Regions from separate parts of the Homo sapiens genome. Here region 1 is linked to region 2. The links are contacts of gene promoters, found by promoter capture Hi-C in blood cells and fetal thymus (Javierre and others, 2016). All regions are on one chromosome and are shown on one strand. Each heading gives the region's core, a stretch centred on a gene start or on the middle of the fragment in contact. The rest is flanking DNA. Distances are from core to core; before and after follow the strand shown. Region 1 has its middle 12 kb from the start of ZNF785. Region 2 holds the start of SEPHS2 (selenophosphate synthetase 2).

What was found. Contacts are between HindIII fragments. The CHiCAGO score rates a contact against its expected background, and 5 or more counts as called.
Region 1: a contact is called between a fragment that was not itself captured here and the fragment with the promoter of SEPHS2 in region 2, in 15 of 17 cell types (erythroblasts, total CD8 T cells, activated CD4 T cells and 12 more). The highest score is 23.3, in erythroblasts.

The regions. Positions count from the first base shown.
Region 1 is chr16:30,595,768-30,599,425 of GRCh38, forward strand. No RefSeq gene overlaps it. Among named protein-coding and RNA genes, the nearest start is that of ZNF785, 12 kb to the left of the region's middle. The HindIII fragment of the contact is 4,017 bases long and covers 1-3,466 here.
Region 2 is chr16:30,443,796-30,447,505 of GRCh38, forward strand. SEPHS2 (selenophosphate synthetase 2) reads right to left here and starts at 2,079. Exons shown (of 1, transcript NM_012248.4): 1 at 1-2,079. The coding sequence starts at 1,932. The coding sequence ends at 586. RefSeq lists an enhancer at 1,271-2,217 and a silencer at 1,544-1,663. The HindIII fragment of the contact is 8,484 bases long and covers 1-3,710 here.

The DNA of each region.
Region 1 (3,658 bases), core at 208-2,707, 150 kb after region 2:
ATACACTTAAAGTTTGTGCATTTTATGTACTTTTAACTCAAAAAATATATAAAACAAACGTGGAGCTCTAGTTAATGATATGCATGTTGAAATGTTTACGGGTGAAGTGTACTGATTTCAGCAATTTTTTTTACATGCACCCAAAAACAAAGTGTACTGGTAGAGTAACTGATAGTTACATGATAAAGCAGATACACTAAATGTTAGTGATAGAATCTAGGTGGTGAGTATATGGGTATTCTCTGTAAAAGTCCTTCAACTTTACTGTGTCTTTCAAAACTTTTAAAATGAATGGTGGCTGGGTGCAGTGGCTCACACCTGTACTCCTAGCACTTTGGGAGTCTGAGGCAGGTGGATCGCCTAAGGTCAGGAGTTTGAGACCAGCCTGGCCAACATTGTGAAACTCCATCTCTACTAAAAATACAAAAATTAGCTGGGCATGGTAGCTCATGCCTGTAATCCCAGCTACTCTGGGAGGCTGAGGCCCGAGAATCGCTTGAACCTGGGAAGTGAAGGTTGTAGTGAGCCAAGATCGCACCATTGCACTCCAGCCTGGGCAATGGAGTGAGACTTCATCTCAAAAGAAAAAAAAAAGCAAAACCACTATTGAGAATGAAAAGACACTCCACAGAATGGGAGAAAATATTTGTAAATCATGTGTCTAATAAGGGATTAATATTCAGAATTTATAAATAACTCCGGTAACTCAACAACCACTAAAAAATAAAAACCCAATTTAAAAGCAGGCAAAGAGGCTGGGCACGGTGGCTCACACTGTCATCCCAGCACTTTGGGAGGCCAAGACAGGCAGATCACTTGAGGCCAGAAATTCGAGACCAGCCTAGCCAACAGAGATGATGAAACTCCATTTCTGCTAAAAATACAAAAATTAGCCGGCATTGTGGCACAGACCTGTAATCCCAGCTACTCAGGAGGCTAAGGCATGAAAATCACTTGAGCCTGGGAGGTGGAGGGTGCAGTGAGCCAAAATGGCACCACAGCATTCCAACCTGGGCAACAGAGCAAGACACCACTCAAAAAAAGAATTAAAAAAAAAAAAGATGAAAGCAGGCATAGGATTTATATAGACATTTCTCCAAAGAAGATATACAGATGAGCTGGGCGTGGTGACTCACGCCTGTAATCCCAGCACTTTGGGAGGCTGAGGCAGGTGAATCACCTGAGATCAGGAGTTCAAGACCAGCCTGGCCAACATGGTGAAACCCCATCTCTACTAAAAATACAAAAAAAAAAAAAAATTAGCCGGGCGTGGTGGCGCACGCCTGTAATCCTAGCTACTTGGGAGGCTGAGGCAGGAGAATTGCTTGAACCTAGGAGACAGAGGTTGCAGTGAGCCGAGATCTTGCCGTTGCACTCCAGCCTGGGCAACAGAGTAAGACTCTATCTCAAAAATAATAAATGAATAAACACACAAACAAACAAATAATAAATAATTATCACTTTTTTGCATTTTCCCAATTTCTTTACTGATTATTTTTGGGATTTGGAAAAAACATAAGGCCGGGCGAGGTGGCCCACACCTGTAATCCCAGCACTCTAGGAAGCCAAGGCAGGAGGATTGCTTGAGCCCAGGAGTTCGAGACCAGCCTGGGCAACATGGAGAAACCTCATCCCTACAAAGAATACAAAAAAATTAGTTGGGTGTGGTGGCACATGCCTGTGGTCCCAACTACTCAGGAGGCTGAAGCAGGAGGATCACTTGAGCTCAGGGAAGTAGAAGCTGCAGTGAGCCATGATCACACAACTGCACTCCAGCCTGGGCCACAGAGCAAGACTCTTTCTTGCTGGGAAGGAATTCTCACATGTACGCACTAGCAGAAGCCACAAGCGGCACCAGGAAGACTAGAAGAATGCGGGGCATGAAAGCTAAGTTACAAGAGAGCTTAAGTAGGAAAACTAAGGTATGTAAGATAAAAATTGAAGCACTGATTTGTTAACTAGGTCATCAGTTATCTTAAAGGACAGTCTTAGAATAATTGCATGGCAGCTGACTTTACAGTCACCCAGATATGTGATCCTGGACAAGTTATTTATTTTTTTTTAAATTTTTTGAGATGGAGTTTTGCTCTTGTTGCCCAGGCTGGAGTGCAATGGCGCAATCTCGGCTCATTGCAACCTTTGCCTCCCGGGTTCAAGTGATTCTCCTGCCTCAGCCTCCCAAGTAGTTGAGATTACAGGCATGTGCCACCATGCCTGGCTATGTTTTTGCATTTAGTAGAGACGGGATTTCACCATGTTGGTCAGACCGGTCTCGAACTCCTGACCTCAGGTGATCCACCCGCCTCGGCCTCCCAAAGTGCTGGGATTATAGGCGTGCACCCTGTGCCCGGTCGACAAGCTATTTAATGTCACTGTGCCTCTGTTTCCTCATCTGGTCAAGGAAAACAATACCTACAGTCAGATCTGGAATTTGAGGCTGCCCTACTTATAGGTTAATAAATGGGTCTGTTATTGTTTCATGGATGCTGTCAGAAAACAGAGACAAAAGACCTTACTGTTCAGGGCACAACAAGCAGCATGAGCATGCCTGCATTGGTTCCCTTCTGCCCCCTGCAGGGGCAATGTGGGATGTGCCCAGATGGATGCTAGACACACAGTGAGTTGCATCATAGGGGAGGAACAGGAAGCTCCTGCTGTTTTTTTCCTTTTTAAAGATGGGATTTGGCTGGGAGCGGTGGCTCACGCCTGTAATCCCAGCACTTTGGGAGGCCAAGGCAGGCAGATCACCTGAGGTCAGGAGTTCGAGACCAGCCTGACCAACATGGTGAAACCCTGTCTCTACAAAAATACTAAAATTAGCTGGGCATGGTGGCAGGTGAGTGTAATCCCAGCTACTTGGGAGGCTGAGGCAGGAAAGTTGCTTGAACCCAGGAGGTGGAGGTTGCAGTGAGCCAAGATCACGCCACTGCACTCCAGCCTGGGTGACAAGAGTGAGACTCCTTCTCTAAATAAATACATAAATAAATAAGATGGGGTCTTGCTATGTTGGCCAGGGTAGTCTCAAACTCCTGGCCTCAAGCAATCCTCCTGCCTTGGCCACCAAAAGTTCTGGGATTACAGTTGTGAGCCACCATGCCCAGCCATCTGCTGTTTTATAGTAAGCAGTAAGGAAGCTGCTCTTTGTCCTGGATGCAGACATTACCTCTCCCTCAAGGTTTGCTTGCTGCCAACACTCCTGAGAATTGTTCTGGGTAATGAGTGGCAAGGGCTTTGCTTATTTATTTTTATTTATTGGTTATACTTACATTTATGGTTTATTAAAGCAAAACGACACAGATTTAAAATCATCAAAGGGATAAGGTACATGGGACAAAATCCGGATGCAACCGGGCACAAACTTTCAGGTGTCTACTCCCAGTGGGGTATCACAGGGACGTGCTTTTTTCTCCCTGCAATGATTTTTGACAACAGGTGCTGATTGTTCCCAAACAGAGAAGTTCACCCAAGCTTTAGGGTGCAGGGTTTTTTTGTTTGTTTGTTTTGGTTTTTTGTTTGTTTGTTTGTTTGTTTAGATAGTCTTACTTTTGTTGCCCAGGCTGGAGAGCAATGGTGCGATCTCAGCTTACTGCAACCTCCACCTCCCAGGTTCAAGCAATTCTCCTGCCTCAGCCTCCCAAGTAGCTGGGATTACAGGTGT
Region 2 (3,710 bases), core at 829-3,328:
AGACGTCATTAACAGAGACCAAGTCAGATGGTTGCAGGTCCTCCTTTCCCAGTCATCAGACAAGTTGCTCAATTCTTGTCCAGAGCAGGAAAGAGCCAGTACTTCAGTAAAATTGAATAAAGAATTTGATGTTGCATTATAAGATCTCTCTTAACAATTTAGATTTATCAACAATATTGGTCCAAAACTCATTTGCTTCTAATTTTTTTCATTTTGCAATTTACTTTGTGTGTGTGTTACTTTAATAATCTCACTCCCTGTGCAGAAATTAATCAACCCCGTGCAAAGAAAAATCCCTCAACCTGGAATAGCTTCATCTTACTTTGGCAAGAGAAAACAGAGGTATTTTTGCTCCTCTTCTACCCAAGTGATGAACAAATATCCCCCCAAAGTTCAAAATGTTACTCTGGCCTCGGAATGCATATAAAGACTGCTTTAGATGGGCTGATTCCAATCACCTAGAAAGGGCAGCCGGAACCACTATGCAGGCAGCCTTCTTTGGAAATTTCTTACAATCAACTCTTGAGAACCATCCGTGATTGTGGACAATGGCTCTAAGGTCCAAACAACTTCTGTTCTTTCATCTCACGAGCTAGGCTCAGAGGAGGCATTTGAACTGTCAGGAGCAAGAACAGCAGCTGTGGCCCCACGAGGCAGGACTTCAATAACTCGCGGCTTGTCAATGATCCGGGCCGTTCGGTTTCCCTTTTCCACAATGCCAACGATCCACGCTTGGTGACCCTCTCCGTACTTGGAGGATTTGATTTCAGAACAAAAGCGAGCCGCCTGTTCTCTTGGCAGACAAATCAGTAATCCCCCAGAGGTTTCAGCTGAGGTTCCTTGAAGAAGCCCAAACCGTCCACTGGCCTTGCTGACGGCAGCCATCTTGGCAATTATTGGCAGATTATGAATAACAAAGGACACTTCATTTCTTTGTTGTTTTGCAAGGTTCTGGGAGTGTCCTAGAATGCCAAAGCCTGTGATATCTGTGGCCGCATGGGCATTAAATGTGTGCATTAAACCTGCAGCAGTTCTGTTGAGGGTAGCCATATTGAACATGGCTTCCTGATAGGCCAGCTCCACCTCTTCTCTGGAGACCACCATCTTTACTTTATTCCATCTTTCAGGATTATCCAGCCATTGGTGGGCATTGACAGCAACCTGGGTTCCTAACGGTTTGGTTAACACCAGCACGTCCCCAACGACGGCGCTGTCCGGCATTATGAACTCATTTGGTTGGCATACTACAGTGGCAACTCCACCGATTATAATCCAAGGGTTGACCACCGTTTGCCCACCGGTCACTGCCGTCCCTCCTTCCTCAGCCGCATCCCGAAAGCCTTTGACCATGAGTGGCGTTACCTTTTCGCGTTCCTCCTCACTCATACTCTGGCTGACGCTGAGTAACATCAACATGTTGTCACACTCAGTAATCCCCATGGCGTAGAGGTCACTCAGCACGTTGGCACAAGCTATGCGCCCCATCATGTAGGGATCTTCTACCAAGGGGTAAAAGAAGTCCGTGGTCTGCACCAGTGACAGGCCCCCGTGCCTCAGGGGGATGACGCAGGAGTCCATCCCGATGCCCAGGGCTGGAAAGGTGGGGCTGGGGCCCGCTCCTGCCGGCAGGCCGGCTTCCTGGGACGCCTCTTCCTGGCCACCCACCAGGCCCCGGCCCAGCGGGGGCCGCACGTCCGGCCGCGTCAGTCCCGCCAGGAGTTTGAGCAGCGCCTCCTGCGGGACCTTGCAGCCTCAGCCCTTCATGCCGGAGAAGCCCGTCAGCCGCCAGCTCGGGCTGAGGCCCAACGCCTGGGGCTCGAAGGGCCGGTAGTTCGAGAAGCTCCGGCCCAGAGTCAAGCCCGCCGGGCCCGAGGAGCCTTCCGCCGCTGCCATCGCCTCTCCGCAGGCGCCCGTCGCCGAGGCTTCCGCCATGGCGCCTGCCCGGCAGGGAAGCGAGAGGAGAAGAGGGCCCTTTTATTTTCCACTCAGATTAATATGAAGCAAAAGTCAAATATTACCTGCAGGGATTCTCCCTAGCGCTACTCAAGCCGTCAGACCCACGGCATGCACAATCTTCCTGATAGAGGAGCCGCCGGACTCCCTTATTTATAGCCCTGGCGATTGACAGCCGCAACATCCAATGACGACTCCGCCACCGAGAGGCGGGCTTCCTAGACTCTAAAAGGTGCAACAACCTCCGGCTTGCAAAACCGCTTGCAACGGGATTGCAGAACGTCACGTGCTTTCCTTCGCTCTCTTAGTAATTTAAATGGTTTCTTGGCAGTGGCTGACGGAACTCTGCTCCCTTCCAGTCACTTTTCCAAGTCCAGCAAATTGTAGACGAGGGAAGATTGGTCACTCGGCAAACCTCATGATCGGCAGGATTGTCCCAAAGGTCACTTGACAGCGCACATGATCGATCCAGGATGGCAAAATAGCCCAAGGGAAAAAACAGAAAGCATGAGAAATTAGAAATTAAACTACTACCATTAAGTTAGCAAACTGCAGGCAGCATCAATATAATGAAATGTTAACAGGAACTTCAAGAACTCTAGGACTCAGGAGGTCGAGGCTGCAGTGAGCTGCGTCCGCGCCACTGCACTCTAGTCTGGGCGACAGAGCAAGAACCTGTCTCTAAAACAAACAACAATAACAAACAAACAAACACCCCCCCCACACACACAGACACACACAAAAAGAGAGATTTAGGACTGGAAGTCCAGACACCTGCATGGATTCTAATGGTGTTTCCCACCAGCTTTGTGTGGAGTCACTCTCCGCGTCGGTTGACTCATCCATCTGTGGAACAGAGTGGGTTACATAGGACTGGTCTATTCTAAAATTCCTATATCTCTGTAAATAAATATATATATATATCTTATATAGCCATGAAGGGCAGTTTGCCAATATCTATTAAAAACTCCACCTCCCAGGTTCAAGTGATTCTCCTGCTTCAGCCTCCTGAATAGCTGGGATTACAGGTGTGCGCCACCACACCCGGCTTATTTTTGCGTTTTTAGTACAGACGGGATTTCACCACGTTGGCCAGGCTGGTCTCAAACTCCTGACCTCAAGTGATCTGCTGGCCTCGGCCTCCCAAAGTGCTGGGATTACAGGCATAAGCCACCACACCCAGCCAATAAAAACTTTTTTAAAAGACAAGAAAATGAATAGAAGACTCAGCATAGGGGCTATGTCTAGGGAGGGCTACATAGGGAGCTTCTGGGCTATGTTTAATTCTGTTCATTGGGCTGGTGGTGGGTACGTGGTACATGGTTGTTCTTTAAACTGTACATAGATATTTTCGGGGCCGGGCACAGTGGCTCACACCTGTAATCCCAGTACTTTGGGAGGCCGAGGCGGGTGGATCACGAGGTTGGGAGATCGAGGCCAGCTTGATCTATATGGTGAAACCCCGTTTCTACTAAAAATACAAAAATTAGCCGGGCATGGTGGTGAGCGCCTATAATCCCAGCTACTCGGGAGGCTGAGGCAGGAGAATTGCTTGAACTTGGGAGGCAGAGGTTGCAGTGAGCCAAGACTGCACCACTGCACTCCAGCCTGGGTGAAAGAGCGAGACTCTGTCTCAAAAAAAAAAAAAAAAAAAACTGCACATAGATATTTTCCCACACTATTTTTGTAGGTATGCTATATTTCAGAATTTAAAAAACATGCAAAAAGAAAGCATGATGGAGTGGGAAAATACAGTG